Regions from separate parts of the Homo sapiens genome. Here all the other regions are linked to region 5. Evidence: promoter capture Hi-C in human tissues and cell types (Jung and others, 2019). All regions are on one chromosome and are shown on one strand. Each heading gives the region's core, a stretch centred on a gene start or on the middle of the fragment in contact. The rest is flanking DNA. Distances are from core to core; before and after follow the strand shown. Region 1 holds the start of SPTBN5 (spectrin beta, non-erythrocytic 5). Region 2 has its middle 3.2 kb from the start of PLA2G4E. Region 3 overlaps EHD4 (EH domain containing 4). Region 4 overlaps MAPKBP1 (mitogen-activated protein kinase binding protein 1). Region 5 holds the start of RPAP1 (RNA polymerase II associated protein 1). Region 6 overlaps EHD4 (EH domain containing 4).

The links. The method cuts DNA at HindIII sites, captures the fragments that hold promoters and counts their contacts. A contact is called where the count stands out against the background at its distance.
Region 1: a contact is called between the fragment with the promoter of SPTBN5 here and the fragment with the promoter of RPAP1 in region 5, in 2 of the 25 tissues and cell types used here (mesenchymal stem cells and thymus).
Region 2: a fragment that was not itself captured here is called in contact with the fragment with the promoter of RPAP1 in region 5 in 1 of the 25 tissues and cell types used here (lymphoblastoid cells).
Region 3: a contact is called between a fragment that was not itself captured here and the fragment with the promoter of RPAP1 in region 5, in 1 of the 25 tissues and cell types used here (mesenchymal stem cells).
Region 4: a fragment that was not itself captured here is called in contact with the fragment with the promoter of RPAP1 in region 5 in 3 of the 25 tissues and cell types used here (IMR-90 fibroblasts, dorsolateral prefrontal cortex and lymphoblastoid cells).
Region 6: a fragment that was not itself captured here is called in contact with the fragment with the promoter of RPAP1 in region 5 in 1 of the 25 tissues and cell types used here (lymphoblastoid cells).

The regions. Positions count from the first base shown.
Region 1 is chr15:41,892,683-41,895,515 of GRCh38, reverse strand. It overlaps SPTBN5 (spectrin beta, non-erythrocytic 5), which reads left to right and starts at 1,463. Exons shown (of 68, transcript NM_016642.4): 1 at 1,463-1,617; 2 at 1,970-2,234; 3 at 2,455-2,622. The coding sequence starts at 2,019. It overlaps LOC105370792 (a long non-coding RNA gene), which reads right to left and starts at 2,739. Exons shown (of 4, transcript NR_135681.1): 1 at 2,438-2,739; 2 at 180-289. RefSeq lists an enhancer at 2,619-2,678. The HindIII fragment of the contact is 14,752 bases long and covers 1-2,833 here.
Region 2 is chr15:42,022,866-42,025,565 of GRCh38, reverse strand. It overlaps a transcript of PLA2G4E not described here. Among named protein-coding and RNA genes, the nearest start is that of PLA2G4E, 3.2 kb to the right of the region's middle. The HindIII fragment of the contact is 5,855 bases long and covers 1-2,700 here.
Region 3 is chr15:41,937,823-41,940,522 of GRCh38, reverse strand. All of the region lies in intron 3 of EHD4 (EH domain containing 4), which reads left to right. Among named protein-coding and RNA genes, the nearest start is that of EHD4-AS1, 18 kb to the right of the region's middle. The HindIII fragment of the contact is 6,898 bases long and covers 1-2,700 here.
Region 4 is chr15:41,802,988-41,805,782 of GRCh38, reverse strand. All of the region lies in intron 3 of MAPKBP1 (mitogen-activated protein kinase binding protein 1), which reads right to left. Among named protein-coding and RNA genes, the nearest start is that of JMJD7, 24 kb to the left of the region's middle. The HindIII fragment of the contact is 5,645 bases long and covers 1-2,795 here.
Region 5 is chr15:41,542,933-41,545,632 of GRCh38, reverse strand. It overlaps RPAP1 (RNA polymerase II associated protein 1), which reads left to right and starts at 1,376. Exons shown (of 25, transcript NM_015540.4): 1 at 1,376-1,414. RefSeq lists enhancers at 1,232-1,621, 1,555-2,136 and a silencer at 2,616-2,700. The HindIII fragment of the contact is 9,616 bases long and covers 1-1,781 here.
Region 6 is chr15:41,918,594-41,921,335 of GRCh38, reverse strand. EHD4 (EH domain containing 4) reads left to right here. Exons shown (of 6, transcript NM_139265.4): 4 at 1,714-2,126. Among named protein-coding and RNA genes, the nearest start is that of EHD4-AS1, 1.5 kb to the left of the region's middle. RefSeq lists an enhancer at 1,428-1,927. The HindIII fragment of the contact is 4,716 bases long and covers 1-2,742 here.

The DNA of each region.
Region 1 (2,833 bases), core at 214-2,713, 350 kb before region 5:
AAACAGGATTTTAACTGGGGCAGGCAGGATAGGTGAATGTGGATGATGGAGAATGGGAAAGGACGTTCAAAGCTGAAAGAGCAGCTGAAGCCCAGCCTTGGGGCAGGAGAGCTCTGGTCCTGCTCAGGAAATGGTGAGTGGCCCATGGAGAGCACCCAGAGTGAGGGGGGCAGACTAGCCTGGTTAGGTAAGCTGGCAGGCTTCCAAGGCCTGGCTGAGGCAAGGTCTGGCAAGTCTGGATTTTCCTTCCCAGGCTGTGGGAGGCTTCACAGGCACGAGCAGAGCTGCACTGTGGAAAGGTGCGGGGTGGTGGTGTCCAGGATGCCGAGTTAGGGGGTCCGTGATGAGGACCCCCAGGGGCAGTGAGGGCAGAAGGGGGGGTGCACGGGAGGACCGCCACAGCAACTGCTGCGAGCAAGGGAGGGACGCAGGGTGTCTGGAAGCCAGCCGCTGCAGAAGGGGCCTGGCAGGGAGAGGACAGCAGGAGAGGAAGCGTCTCTCAGACGCAGGAAGCCGCACCCCACCCGAGACCACGGCACCTCTCAGCGTCACCCCTGACTGCCTGCAGTGGGCCCAGGCGGTTCAAGTGTGACTCATCCCTAGCCCAGCTCTCAAGGGCGCGCTGAGCGGCTGTCCTGCTGTGGGCTGTGGCTGCCAGGAGCGCCTCCCTGAGGAGCGGGCTGTCGCTTCAGAGGCTCCAGGGCCGCTGGAAGACACCCACACACACACACCCCAGCCCACACTGCTACCCTGAGTTTAGCCAGAGGCGGGTGAGACCCCCAGAATTAGAACTCGCCTTCACTCTGGCATGTAGTCCACGGCTGCTCGGGGAGGAAGGGATGGGCGCCCACCAGCTCCCTCTGCACCCCTGCCTCCGAGCCCCGGGCCACGGCCAGCTCTGTGGAGCCCAGAGTTAACACCGTGTCTCTAATTTTGGAGGAGACTCCACAGCCCTCGCAGTTCCAGGTCACCCCTTCCTCCAGGGAGCCTACCCTTCAGCCCCGGGCTAGGCAGGCTGCACTCTGGCAGGGCCTGGAAAGCCAAGCCCAGGGTCTGTGAGGCCCTCAGTCTATGGGCTGTTCCCTGGGGGTGAATGAGAAGACCACGGCCCAGGACGCTCCCTCATCCCCTCGCCCTGGGTGCTCACAGAGAGGCCCCAAGAGGGTACAGAGGGCAGTCTCAGATTGGGAAGTGCGTCCACAGGCTTCCCACAGAGGCTCTGCCCTTTGGTACCTCCTACGCAGACTGCAGCACCCCATGCGGTGGCAGGGCCGCTCCATGGGCCTCTGCGTCCTGGGAGCCAGGACCCCCACCTGGAGTTGGAGAAGTTGCTGGCGGGGAAGGGAGGATGATGAAGGAGGACATCATCTGGCAATGGCCCTGGAGCATTCCTGAACCACCCCCTCCCTGTCTGGGCCACGCCCTGTGGCAGGTGGGAGGACAATGCCGCCTGTGTGCCGTCACCCCAGCACGCTGGCTCAAGGGGAGGGCTGTGGTGCAGCCCTGCTCCAGCCTTGGCCTCTCCTGATGTCCCTCTCCCTCCCTCCACAGCCCCTGCTATCTGCCATCTCCATCCGTCCAGCTGGGCCGCCTCTGTGGAACCCAGGCATCACCAAGGTAAGCAGCCCCTGCTATCTACCATCTCCATCCGTCCAGCAGAGCCGTCTCTGTGGGACCCAGGCATCACCAAGGTAAGCAGTTTCCTGTCTTCCTTCCACCTGTCCCAGTCACTGTGGTGGAGGGACCTGGCAGCAGGGGCTCTGAGAAGAAGAATCTGGAAGGTGGGGTGGGGCAAAGGGGGCCCTGGGCCATTCAAGCACAGGGGACCAGAAGCACTGGCCCTTACCTGGCTGGGCTCCAAGCTGCAACCCCCATGAAATGTGAGGACAGTCTGGCAAGGCGGGACCCCAGGCCCCTGGTAGAGGGGCCATCTCCATTCACATCATCCCCTAATCTGCATGCCCTCCAGGTTTAGGGAGCCATCCAGCAGCTCCTCATCCCCAAAGTCTGCAGGGCTGATGGCTGGTCAGCCCCACAGTCCCCGGGAGCTCCTCGGGGCTGCAGGGCACCGCAGCAGGAGGCCCAGCACAGAACTCCGGGTCCCGCCCAGTCCAAGTCTCACCATGGACTCTCAGTACGAGACGGGCCACATTCGCAAGCTACAGGCCCGGCACATGCAGATGCAGGAGAAGACTTTCACCAAGTGGATCAATAACGTCTTCCAGTGCGGCCAGGTGAGTATAGCCAGCTGTGACCCACAGCCCACCCATACCAGGCCCCCAGCTCTGGCCAGTGGGCCTCCGGGGTGAGCTGTGGGGTCATCTGCCTGAGGCCAAGCTGAGGCCAGAGCTCCTTCTTCCAAAGCAGCTGCTCTGGGTCGTACCTCTCAGGTCCCAGGATGGGAGGACAGGTGAGGCTGGGCTGACCCCATACTTACCCCTGTCCCCTCCCCAGGCGGGCATCAAGATCCGGAACCTGTACACAGAGCTGGCTGACGGCATCCACCTCCTGCGGCTGCTGGAGCTCATCTCAGGGGAGGCCCTGCCACCCCCGAGCCGGGGCCGCCTGCGTGTGCACTTCCTGGAGAACAGCAGCCGAGCTCTGGCCTTCCTCAGGGCCAAGGTGGGCCCCAGGGAAAGGGGTCTGGGATGGTGCTGGGGCAGGCAGCTGGGACAGGCTGAACTACTGGGTCACCTTTCCTGCGCCAGGCCACTGGGCAGAACAGAGGAGCTGGGGCCTGAGTACAGGAGGAGTGGCTGGGACACAGAGGAGCAGAAGCCACGCCCTCCTCGCACAGCACCCCTGACTTGGAGAGCACCCAGCTGGCCATGGC
Region 2 (2,700 bases), core at 36-2,535, 480 kb before region 5:
CTTAATAAGCACATTCCTTTCCCTTCAGGTGCACTAAGATAGGGAAGCTAAAAGCAGACTCCAGTGGGGGGTGGGGGGAGGTATGCCTGCAGCTACAGGAAGATGTATGGGAACAGACACACAACTCTCCCTCCCAGATAAGCACAACAAAGAGACACAGAAGCAGTCCAAGCCTCTGATAAACTCTCCCACTCTGAATCCTTAAAAACTCTTAGTCTGTAAGAGAGTATGCCTCTGACCTAACTTGGCCAGAAGCCCCTCTCAGGTTTGTTTTCCCTTAAGTAAACCTGTCTTACTGGCGAGTCACCTTTCATGTTTCTTTCCTCTTTCTTTCTTTTCTTTTCTTTTCCTTTTTTTTTTTTTCTTTTTTGAGACAGAGTTTCACTCTGTCTCCCAGGCTGGAGTGCAGTGGTGCAATCTTGGCTCACTGCAAGCTCCGCCTCCCGGATTCATGCCATTCTCCTGCCTCAGCCTCCTGAGTAGCTGGGACTACAGGTGCCCGCGACCATGCCCGGCTAATTTTTTGTGTAGTGGAGATGGGGTTTCACTGTGTTAGCCAGGATGGTCTCGATCTCCTGACCTCGTGATCCACCCACCTCAGCCTCCCAAAGTGCTGGGATTACAGGCGTGAGCCACCGCGCCTGGCTCCTCTTTAATTCTTACAGTTTCACGACTGATTTCACATACTTCCTTTATTGTATGCTAAAATTCCGTATATACGTAGAGCTGCTCCTGGGTCCTACCTGGTTTATGGAAGGTATTGGAATCCAGAGTTTGTTGGCAAAGACTGGAAAAGCGTTAGGTGCTTTTCAGCAGAAGAACGAGAGGTTGAAGGGAGTGTTTCTAAAGCTCACAAGCTGTAGGAGGCAGAGAGGAGGCTGGAGACAGGTGCTGCTGGCAGGAGGTGGGAAGGAAGGGACAGGGCCCTGAACCACCTGGAAAGCGGACAGTGAGGAGTCATCCTTGCTGGGCCCACAGGGGAGTGGCATCCACTGGGCTTCTGGGAGGAATGTGCTTTTCAATATTGGGTTACCTGAGGCCAAGAGTCTGCTGGCAGAGGCAGTGCCTGGTCACCCCATCTGAAGTGTCAGGTAACAAGCCTGGCGACAGGCCTGGAGTCGGAGGCCTCAGCGCACACAGCAGCAAGGCTGGGCCCAAGTAGCCCAGGGGATCTGAGGATCCTGGGGCTCCCTGGTCATCAGTGCTGGGTGGAAAGGAACTGTTCCCTCCCCTTGCTGCAGAGACAAGTTCAGAATTTCCACACAGAAGGAACTCTACCAAAAGAGCACTTGACTTGGAGCAGCAGTTGTGTACCAAGATTGCTGCTTTGGCACCCGCACCCTGGCGTGGGGATGTCACTGTTTGCCTGACACTCCTTACTCACTGTCCCAGTCCACTTCCAACTCCCCGAGTCCTCTGCTCTGCTCCCCTCCCATCCCACTTAGAGCCCACACTGGCCAATTTACCATTTAATTTTACCCCCTTTCCTCCCCTTTCTAGATTTTACATTCTTGGTTGTTTTATTCCAGACCCCACCTGAGTGGTCAGCACAGAGATGGGCACCCAGCAGGCAGTCGGTAAATACTTTCCAGTAGATCAGTCCACTTAGTTCAAGGTCACACTGGCTCCCACCTGGGACAGAGGCACCACAGAGGATGTGGGGGAAGAAACTTCCACCAAGCTCCCATCAGCCCCCTATTCAATTTGATTTAATTCAACTAAAATGAGTTGAGACCCTGCTCTGAGGAGTTGATAGACAGTGAGGAAACATACGAGTTGGAGTGGGGGTTTGTGGCTGGGCTTCTTCAGTGAGAAGAGGCCAAATAGGAGGCCTTGAGGAATGCCCTGGTGTTTGGGGCTCAACCTGGCCTATCTGATTGGGAAGGGTGGGGGAGTGGGAGGGATGGGGAGACAGATGGGACCCCATGACTTTCAGGACAGTATAGTGCTGTGGGTTGAGTTGCCACAGAAACTCCTGGACTTAGCTTGTATGGCCTGTTCTGGCCTTATCTCTCCCTTAACTTTCCACCCTACTTCCCCTATCCCAGATGGTTCACATCTCACCTCCTAATTGATCCCTTGTTTCAACATCAATCATCCTTGCCTTCTTAAAGTTCAGCTCTCCTGCTCAAAAACCATCAATAGCCCCCTACTGCTTAGAGACTACGTCCAAATATAAAGTATGGCCTTTTAGGGTCATGATTATTTGGACCCTAATCTAGTATGGAATGAAGGGTGACCTCTGAACACAGGGCAGACTGGGTCCAAATGCAGGGCCAGAACCAAGTTGGTGGTATCTGTGGGACCTCTTCATGTGCCTGGCCCTCCAGAGAGCAGAGGGGCCTTACCTGGGTGTTTTCCAGATTTGTTCTTTCACAAAGCCTCCTTCTTTCTGCCCAATTTCTACCACCCCTGTGTTCCACTCTCTACCCCCAGTATCTCTTCCCACACAACTCACTGCACAGACACCAGACCACCTGCATACATAAGCGTGCCCTGCTTTCTGGCCTCCCTGCCTGTGTTCATGCTGTTTCTTCCTCCTAGGATGCCTCTCTCTTCCTCCTAGTGGTGCCTAGGCTCACTAGCTGTTGAAATCCCATTCCTCGTCTAAAGCCCAATTCAGATGCCACCTCCTCTGTAAGGCCTTTTCAGATCCATTCTTTCCCTCTCCAGCTGGAATCCATTTTCCATCTTCTGTGT
Region 3 (2,700 bases), core at 137-2,636, 390 kb before region 5:
GGTGTTAGGGGCGCAGCTGGTGGTGGAAGTCACTCAGCTGACATTTTCAACACACTAACCCCAAAGAATGCATACTGTTGTAAAGCAGCTTCAGCTCAAACGATTGCAAACAGTGCCACGTTCTCACGTATACTCACACCTACACCCAGCTTCGTAAGACCAGCTTCATAAGACCACAGCCCCACCTTTGCCAAGAATTAATGTCAACATGGGATAATAGACTGGGTACAAACTGTGACCCCACAAGATGTTTAAAGCATCCCCCACTGACTTTATTGGCGGGTCTTTGCCTCCCTTATGGGCATTGTGCCTGGGAAGGAGGAAAGGTGGCCGCTTGTGTACTGCCCTCCACTGCTCCTCCTTTCCCCTTTGTGCGGTTGATGATTAACCCTCAAAAGCTGAGTGGCTGGGCGCGGTGGCTCACGCCTATAATCCCAGCCCTTTGGGAGGCCGAGGCACGAGGATCCCTTGAGTTCAGGAGTTAGAGACCAGCTTGGCCAACATAGTGAGACCTCATCCCTATTTATTTAAAAAAAAAAATACATAGCATTCCAGGGGAGTAAACGTCATCTAAATCTCCTGTTTAGGAGCCGTATAAATGAAACCCATGAGGGCAATTGATTTTGGAGCAATTTTTAGTATACTACTCCGTATGGAAACTCCTTACCCCTCAAGTTTTCCTTAGTTCAATTATGGTTAGCAGAAAATCTTTTTTTTTTTTTTTTTTTTTGAGACGGAGTCTTGCTGTGTCACCAAAGCTGGAGTGCAATGGAGTGCTCACTGCAGCCTCTGCCTCGCAGGATCAAGTGATTCTCCTGCCTCAGCCTCCTGAGTAGCTGGGACTACAGGTGCCTGCCACCATGCCTGGCTAATTTTTGTATTTTTAGAAGTGACGGGGTTTCACCATATTGATTCTTGAGGGCTTTCCTTAACATTTCCTTAACATTGTCTAGGAAGACTTAAAGATGTTTGTATATAAATGTTAAAATGATAATCAGTATGGTAACCATATTGGCCAAACTGGTCTCAAACTCCTGACCTCAGGTGTGATCCACCCGCCTCGGCCTCCCAAAGTGCTGGGATTACAGGTGTGAGCCACCATGCCTGGCCATTGGCAGAAAATCTTTAGGGACAACAGACTAGGTTAGTTTAGTTACTAACCTGTAGCTTTCCTGGCTGACGTGAAGTGTTGAATTCCCATCAAGCAAGGATAAAAGTGTTCTGATATATTTATAATAATAATATTCTGATCAAGTAATAGCTTCCTAAAAGTCCTACAAACTTTTCTTGATTTCTTTTCTTGTATTTTAGTAGCCAATGAAAGAATGTTTGGATTCCTGCGGTTTTCTAAATTGCTTTCTTGAAGTGTGTGGGTAAATCTGAGTTGGTTCACTCTTCAGAACATCCTTTGTCCTTGGTGATAGCAGCCAGGTGTTTGACTCTGCGATGAGAAGAAAGAGCACCTTTATCCACACGCATAGCATTTTCCTTCCCACTCGACCTCTTATCATGCTGGCCGCTGAAATACTGTTTCCTAGAATACTATTGAGTCCATGCTGAACCTAAACATAATCTAGGATATATTTCTAGAGTTAGCATGAACACAAGTGTGTTCCCAGCTACTTAGTACAAACCTCCGGATTCTGACTCCAATCATAACATCCTTTGAAAAATTATAATGTAGCAACTGGTATTCTTATCAATCTATTTAGCATTTGGCATTTTCAAGGTGCTGTTTTAACCACAGATTATTCCTATGGTTTCTTGAGAATATGAGGTTTTGCGTAGCCTTCAATAGACTTGATTTTGGTAATAAAAATAGTACAGCTTCTCCCTTTTAAAAATTTAAATAACTCTAGAAGGAAAAAGCTCTATCTAAATTTTCTAACAGATCGACTTATTCTCTCAGGAACAACAGCTGTCAAATGAAAATTCGAGAGTGTCTTTTCCTGATGTTTAAGCTCTCGCCTCTTAATCCCAGCCTATTCATTATAAACCAATGAATAGAACTGGGAAGACAATGAAAAATAAAAGGACAGAAAATGCCCTGCTGGTAAAAGCAGTGGACAGTAATAGTACATGAAGCCGGGAGGATCTAACTGCACTTCAGGTAACATGACGGGCAATAACAGAAACTTCAGAATCACTGATTACCATTTTAACGTCTATATACAAACATCTTTAAGTCCTCCTAGGCAATGTTAAGGAGATGTTAAGGAAAGCCCTCAAGAATCAAAAAGGCGCCTGGGTAGTGATATAAACAGGAACAGGCTGTTTCAAGGGCCTGCCAACACAGCTAAGGTGCTCAAACACAATACAGGTTGAACATCTTGAAACTGAAAATTCAAAATCCAAAATCCTCCAAAATCCAAAACTTTTTGACGTGATGCCACAAGTGGAAAATTCTACACCTGACCTCATGTGACGGGGCACGATCCAAACTTTGTTTCATGCACAAAATTATTTTAAATGTTCTGTAAAATTACCTTTAGGCCATCTGTGTATGGTGTCTATGAAACATAAATGAATTTAGTGTTTAGGCTTGGGTCCCTTTCCCAAGATCTCTCATTATATATGTATGTGCAGATATTCCCCAATCAGAAAATCTGAAATCCAAAACACTTCCAGTCCCAACCTTTTCGGATAAGGTTTACTCAACCCATATCTCAAAAGAATCGACAGAGCTAGGAAATGGGGCCT
Region 4 (2,795 bases), core at 262-2,761, 260 kb before region 5:
GAATACCCTACAGCAAGTAAGAAGGTAGCTCTGTGTTCCTTCAGCTCAGGTGTCACGAGAACACAGTTCAGGAGGAGAATTCTGTCACACCCAGTGCAATGCTTCAAAGCTGAGGATCTCAGAATCAATTTTAACATGGGCTGAGGAAATGGAGGGCCTCCTCAGGAGAGCAGGGGTTCCCTCTTCTCCTCCCCACTTAAATCAACCAAGAGGTCTCTTCTTAGCTGCCAGATACACCCCGTCACCTTGCTGGGACACTTCCCATCCCAGCGGGAGAGGAGCAGCTGTGCGCAGGGCACTCACCCAGGCCATTCTGGCATAGGAGCCAGGAGAAACCCATTCTCAGGACTGGGCACAGGGGCACAGGGGCACAGGGGCTGTGCTGGGCTTGAAGGCCCATCAACCTTCCACCAGCTGGCTGAGGAAAAGGCCCAACTCAATTAAGGGTGTTCAACTCAATTAAGTCTCTCAAAGGGGCTGTCTGGCATCCTCTAGTAGGGGGGCTTCCCGTGGGGAAACAACGGCCAAGGGATGTAGGAGCCACTAGGACAGGCTCCATGCTCAGCCTGGAGCTCCTACCCACCTCTGCCTGACACACTGCCCACCCTCCTTTCCTGTGCTGTTCCATTTCCTTTCAGAAAACTTTGTTTTGGTTTGATATTCGCCTCCGGGCCTCAGAGAATTTTCTGAGTTTTGTTTCTCTCCTTGTTTCTAGGATACCTGAGCTGGCTCCCAAAGCAACAGGCACAGGAGGAACAAGAGCGTGGGGGCTGGGGGCAGTGTAAGGATGATCAGATAAGAAAAGCAGGGAGACAAGGAGGGAGGTGAAGAACCTGCTTGTGCTCACACAGAATCTGGTGGCCCCCAACATCACAGCAGCACATCAGGGAGTTCTAGAACACAGCAAAACTCAAACACCCAGAAAAGAAGCCATTTGCACAGACAACTTCAAGTTCTAAGAAATCAAAAGGTCAGGGAACAGATTAGGGGCACTGCCCAGGGATGGCCTAAGCCAAGCATACACGCTTAGGAAACCTACTAGAGGTTCCATCAGGAAAGCCTGTACACCATCTGGAAGGATCATGACTCCCAGGCACATGCACTGGGCTGAGACCTGCTCATAAACATGCATAAGCACATGCCCTTAAAGGCCAGGCCTGGAGTCCAGGGGTGTGTGAGGAAGAAAGCGGGCAGGACTCCACACTCTCCAGGGCAGGGACACAGGTCTCAGCATGCACCAAGCAGCACCCCAAGGCCTTTTTTGCCTGTGCTACATCCAGCCCCAGCCCCACCTCCAACAAGAGGGAACCTGGCTTTCCCAGGCAGAGGCAAGAACAAGTGGAATTCCCCTGAGGCAGGCTGCACAAACTTATCCAGTAGAGAGGTCTTTCCATCAGCTTGCTTCTCTAGGGGAAAATGGAGCCTAGCCCAGCCTTTGCCAGGCAGAGCCCGTGTGGCTCCCACAGCACCCTTACTGCAGCCATTAAACACCAGAGGACCACTTGGGAGAGACACTGACCCCAAACCCAGGGGCAGAAGTCTCCCTTGCACAGACTGAGCTGCCCATAAATGGGGCTCTTCTCATTCAAAGGGCAGGTAGGCAGCTTAGAGGAAAAGCAATTTGTTAAAAATAAGCAGAAAGTGGCCGGGCACAGTGGCTCACACCTGTAATCCCAGCACTTTGGGAGGCCAATGTGGGCAGATCACCTAAGGTCGGGAGTTTGAGACCAGCCTGACCAACATGGAGAAACCCCATCTCTACTAAAAATACAAAATTAGCTGGGCATGATGGCGCATGCCTGTAATCCCAGCTACTCTGGAGGCTGAGGCAGGAGAATTGCTTGAACCCAGGAGGCGGAGGTTGCGGTGAGCTGAGATCGTGCCATTGCACTCCAGCCTGGGCAAGAAGAATGAAACTCTGTCTCAAAAAAAAACAGTGTGGTCTCCCCCTACTCTGTGCCATTTTAACAATCAGAGCTCTACAGTCATACTACTTGGGTTAGAACCCCATTACACACACTAGCTATGTTACCTCAAGCAAACTCCTTAACCCTTTTGGTTTTTTTAAGAGGCAGGGTTTCACTGTGTCACCCAAGCTGGAGTGCAATGGCACGATCATAGTTCACTGCAGCCTTCACCTCCTGGGCTCAAGCAATCCTCCTGCCTCAGCCTCCCCAGTTGCTAGGACTACAGGCACATGCCACCATACCCAGCTAATTTTTTTTATTTTTACTTTTTGGTAGAGACAGGGTTCTCACTATGTTGCCCAGGCTGGTTTCAAATTCTTGGTCTCAAGCAATCCTCCCACCTTGGCTTCCCAAAGCCACTGCACCCTGCCTGCTTAACCTTTTTTTTTTTTTTTTTTTTTTGAGATGGAGTCTTGCTCAGCCGCTCAGGCTGGAGTGCAGTGGCACGATCTCGGCTCACTGCAACCACCGTCTCCCAGGTTCAAGCGATTCTCCCAGCTCAGCCTCCCGAGTAACTGGGACTACCAGCACCCGCCATCACGCCAGGCTAATTTTTGTATTTTGCTAGAGACAAGATTTCACCATGTTGGCCAGGCTGGTCTTGAACTCCTGACCTCAGGTGATCCGCCCACCTTGCCCTCCCAAAGTGCTAGGATTATAGGCGTGAGCCACTGCACTTGGCCTGCTTGACCTCTTTGGATCTCAATTTCCTCCTCTAAAATATGAGGGTGATAATAGTTGCTCAGAGTATTAAATAATTCATATAAAGTGCTTAAAAAGTACCTGGCATAGAATAAGTACAGTCATACGTCACATAATAACATTTTG
Region 5 (2,700 bases), core at 127-2,626:
GGTCTCGAACTCCTGACCTTAGGTGATCTGCCAGCTTCAGCCTCCCAAAGTACTGGGATTATAGGCATGTGCCACTGTGCCTGGCCCCAGCAATCTGGTTTAACAAGACTTCCAGTTGATTCTGGTGCCTGTTAAAGTTGGAAAGCCACTGGACTAACATTGGCTGCCCCATGATGTCCTTTGGTCTAGAAATGATTTACTTAAGGTCCTACTATGTGCATGGCAACACGTTGGGTGCTCAGTATTTAGATGCAAAGTACAAGGTCTGGTGCCCACAAGGAACTGACAGTCTATTCAAGGGAACAGGACATAAGCCTGTGAAAAGGTAACCGGTGACAGTTGGTAGTTGGCAGTGTGTTCTTAGCATACCACACAACTGGTGCAGGCGGTGAGATTCCAGGTGAATCCAAGGAAAGTTTGGTGAGTAGGCGTGGCTGGCAGAGGTTTTAGAGTTGACGCCAGCTAGGCCTTAAAGAGTTATCCTTTGGAGACAGGGGTGGCAGGGAAAAGAGGGAGGATTTCCAAGAAGGGAGAGTGGGATGAACAAAGGCAAGATTCTGGAGAAGATGATAACCTTGCTAGCAAGGAAGCTTTATTCCCTCTCTTCTCACCACCACTATTTCTGCAGTGCACACTGGCAGTGTTCTTTCCTTGGGCCTTTTTCATGGTTACCTTCTAGCTCTTCCATAAACACATTCGTCACGTTGGGGTGTGTGTGTGTGTCCACGTTTCTGTGTGCTGCCGTGGGCGTGGGTGCTGGGATGTGGGATGTGGTAACACTGGCTGGTGAGTGCAGAGGGACGTCTGAGGAACGCTGTGTCCCTGCCAGGGGTGTCGTAAGTGCAGAAGGGGCTGTGCCTGCTGTACATCAGAAGCATGTGTGGGCCAGGCGCGGTGGCACATCCTGTAATCACAGCACTTTGGGGGGCCGAGGCGGGCGGATTACCTAAGGTCGGGAGTTCGAGACCAGCTTGGCCAACATGGTGAAACCCCGTCTCTACTAAAAATACAAAAATTAGCCAGACGTGGTGGCGGGCACCTGTAATCCCAGCTACTCGGGAGGCTGAGGCACAAGAATCGCTTGAGCCCGGGAGGCGGAGGTTGCAGTGAGCCGAGATTGCGCCACAGCACTCCAGCCTGTGCGACAGAGCAAGACTCTGTCTCAAAAAAAAAAAAAAAAAAAAAGGATGTGTGTTCTGGGTGATGGTATAGAGCTTACGTGGGGGTAATAAACCGCCAGCCGCGCAGCACCGCGCTCACCAGTCCGCTGCACTGAACAAGCAAAGCCCAGAATGCTCCGAGATAAGACCGGGAGAGGCGGGGCTGGGCTGCGGGGCGGAAGCTGGAATCTGGCGGCGGCGGAAACGCGATCTCTGCGGGGCAAGATGGCGGCGCCCAGACAGGCCTGGAGCACGTAGGTGGCGGGGCTGGAGGGACGGATTTCAGGTGATCTGGGAGGAGGACCCAGGGTAGCGTGTCCAGTTTCTTTGCTGGAACCTGCCTGCGGGCCTTTGGTCTGTAAGGGAGCAACTGTGGCCTCCTCTGTGCATAGATCTCGGGCACGGCCCTTCAACGGGCGGCGAAAGCTGCGACTCGATGATTCCTCATTGTAGAGTTGGGTGGTCCAGGAGGCTTAACTGGAGCCCTTGACCTGAGCGGTAAGGGCAGTCACGCGTCCCGACTCGGGATTGGATCCTGGCTCTGGAGGATAGGCTGCAATGTAAGAGCCCCAGAGACTCCTCAGAGGCCAACATAAACCCAGAGGTCCATTGTTAGGACTACTTTTTTTTACGAGTTACTCTTTAGGCATTACTCTTTAGGATTACAGGCGTGAGCCACCGCGCCCGGCCAACCCATTCTTATTCTATTAATAACTGAAAATGTTATCACTTCTAGCACTGATTGGTTCTGGACAAATCTGCGCTGGATTTGTGGGGAAACACACTGGTGGCTTTACTTAGGACTAAAATAATTGTTACTGAGGTTTATTTATATAAGTAACAGGCACTGGGCTAGGCGTTTTGCGTGTATAGTCATTTAAATCCTCACACATTTCCTATTATATAGGACCTGTTACTCACATTTTACAGTTGTGGAAATGGGACTTAAGACAGCATAGAGGCCGCGCACGGTGGCTCACGCCTGTAATCCCAGCACTTTGGGAGGCCGAGGCGGGCGGGTCACCTGAGATCAGGAGTTCGAGACCAGTCTGGCCAACATGGTGAAACCCCGTCTGTACTAAAAAAATACAAAAAATTAGCCGGGCGTGGTGGCAGGCGCCTGTAATCCCAGCTACTCGGGAGCCTGAGGCAGGAGAATCACTTGAACCCAGGAGGCGGAGGTTGCAGTGTGCCGAGATCGTGCTATTGCACTCCAGCCTGGGCAACAAGAGGGAGAATCTGTCTCAAAAAAAAAAAAAAAAAAAAAAAAAGGACAGCATTGATAATTTGCCTAATTTCGCACATTTAGTGCATTTAGTAAGTAGCGGAACTGGTATTTGACTTCTGGCCTATTGATTCCAAAACTGGTGCCCATAACCCCCTGGCTCTCTTTGTGATGTAGGTATGGCGCACCCTATGAAGTGAGCTGGACTTTGCTTTTGGATCACATGAATCCATGGATAAGTAGGAATTGTTTCTGCTTATGTAGACTCTTATAGGAGTGAATTGTTACCATACTATGGATTCTCAGTTCATCTAG
Region 6 (2,742 bases), core at 243-2,742, 380 kb before region 5:
AATGAAAATAAACTCTGGCCCACATTCCGAGAACTGCCTTTGTCTTCCTTATCCCCAAGGAGTCAGGGAGTGCCGCAGTGAGACAGAACAGAGAAATGAAAAGCATGAACTGGAAGTATCCACGCGTGTGGCGGCATAAACACCACACTCAGGACAGCGGCCTGCTAGTGGGGGGAAGGGCTCAGGGAGGGGTGCACAGGGGGCTTCAGCGTTACCAACTGTCTTGTTTTCTTTATGAAAAATGGACCTGAATCCAGTTTGCTTGTTCAGCTATTCCTCTAACACCTGTTCTTCAAATGCATGGAAACCTTAGTCCGCAGACCCTCTTTATTTTCACCTAATAGATTATTCACCTCAGATACTTTTTCCTCTGCCTTGGATTCACACCTTCTCCACCCCCACAGCCAACCAGGGTCTCACAATCGATGTTGACATTTTTGTATTTGTGCTATAGTCTGTATCCACAGATGGTTGAGTATTTTGTATTTTAACATTTTACATGAATGTTATCATGCTGTATATGTCCTTTTGAAACTAAGCTTTTACTCTTGTTCTTTTCTGGAGATTTACCTGTGTTGACAAGTGAAGATCTAGTTCCTTCTCACCACCGTATGGTATTTTGTTATCTAAAGAAACGATACTTGGTTTTAAAACATATCTGAAATAGCAAACAAAGCAAAGTGTCAACATTTGTTAAAATTATGTGGTAGGTACATCAGCATTCATTATATGACTTACAGATGTTTATGTATGTTTGAAAGTTTTCAAAATCTAAAAGAAGAGGGGAGACGACCCCTAGCATGGGGGTCAGGCAGGTGACATCTCAGCACTAGCTGGGCTGGATTGAGACTCTGCTTCTGCAACTAGTCAGACTGAGATTAAAAGTCAACTTTGTGGGCTTGGCCTCCTCTTGTTTGCTTTTCGTGGGAATCTGCCTCCCTGGGGAAAGGCCTGAGAGCCTTGACCTTGGGCTGAAGAGTGTTTATGCAGCTGCATGATTTGTGGAGGTGGTCAGAATAGGCTGGACAGAATTTGCTGTGGGCCAGGCCATTTTAAAAAAAGAAATTGGCAAGAGACCATTTTACACAATGGCTGTGATACGTAATGTTAAAAAAATATTCACAATATACCTGAGTTATAAATAGTCCAAAGATAAATATTGATCACAACACTGGCTGGGCCAACCTTTGACCTCCTCAGCACTCTACAAACTTGGGTTAATTGAAGGCGATGCCTCTTCTGTTATGCTTACTGGATACCCCCATGGGATGCCAGGTGGCCTCTGGTTCTCTTTCTTCTGTATTTGGGGCTTTCAGAAAAGTGAGACTTTTCAGAAGTAAGATCTTTTGACCCATGGCCTGTGTTTTTATAAAACCATTGATCAATTCTGCCATCAAGCAAAAGGTCTGTATTAGGTGAAATAAAACACTCATGAGGACTAAATGAAATCGCAGATATGAAAGTCAGCAATTCCCAAAGTGACCATGAGCCCCATTCTCTTTCCTCCCTCCTCCTGTGGAAGGGCTCCCCAGGTCCTTCCCACCCGGATTCATCCAGCCCGTGATTTTCATGTCACCAGGCCTCCACTGCCTCCAGGTTGGAGACAGGGCTCTCTCCCTGGCAGCTGCTGGAGAGCGAGACTGTTCCTGAGCCGCCCATTAAACGTGTCTCCTGCAGCAGTGGCTACACTGACGTGTCCTTCTCTCCACCCAGGCTATGACTTCTGCCAGGTCCTGCAGTGGTTTGCCGAGAGGGTGGACAGGATCATCCTGCTCTTTGACGCTCACAAGCTGGACATCTCAGATGAATTCTCAGAGGCCATCAAGGCCTTCCGGGGCCAGGACGACAAGATCCGTGTCGTGCTGAACAAGGCCGACCAAGTGGACACGCAGCAGCTGATGCGGGTCTACGGGGCCCTCATGTGGTCCCTAGGCAAGGTCATCAACACGCCCGAGGTACTGCGCGTCTACATTGGCTCCTTCTGGGCGCAGCCCCTGCAGAACACGGACAACCGCCGGCTCTTCGAGGCTGAGGCCCAGGACCTCTTTAGAGACATCCAGAGCCTCCCCCAGAAGGCAGCGGTGCGCAAGCTCAACGACCTCATCAAGCGAGCGAGGCTGGCCAAGGTAAGCCAGGAGATGCCTTGCACAGAGGCCAGGGGCTGGGACTCTGCTGTCTCCTCTCCAGAGGCAAGATGGGTGGGAGGAGGCTTCGTTCCAGAAGGCTTAAGGAATGAACATGCGCTAGGTTAAGAATACAGCCTCGAGGTCAGGTGGCCCTGCTGACACCCTAGCTCCTGGCTCTGCACTCCTGGGCAGATGACTAACCCTGTTCTCCAATCTGTACCATGGAGCTAATAAGAGCACTTCACAAGAACTTGGGGTGACAGTTGGTCAGTGTGACAGAGCACTTGGCATAGTGCCTGGTGCACAGGGAGGGGGATCAATCAGTGCACCCACTACATGGTAGCTGTTAGGATGTCAGGACGATAGGAATATAACCAACCAAACCTGAAAGAGGTGGCATTGGTGAGACCAACAGGATGCTGAGAGGCCACTGCTAGTCCCCGTGCACCAAAGGCCAGTGTTACCACCTGGATCCAGGGGAGCCCTGGGAAGAAGTATGGCTCAGTCTTACTCTTGGAGTGTGCTGGTTTTGGGTCACCCCCGCATCCTCATTCTGGGCTGCGGGCTGTTAGCCTGCATGCCTGGGCTCCTGGCTCGCCTGCCTCATAGCTGAGCC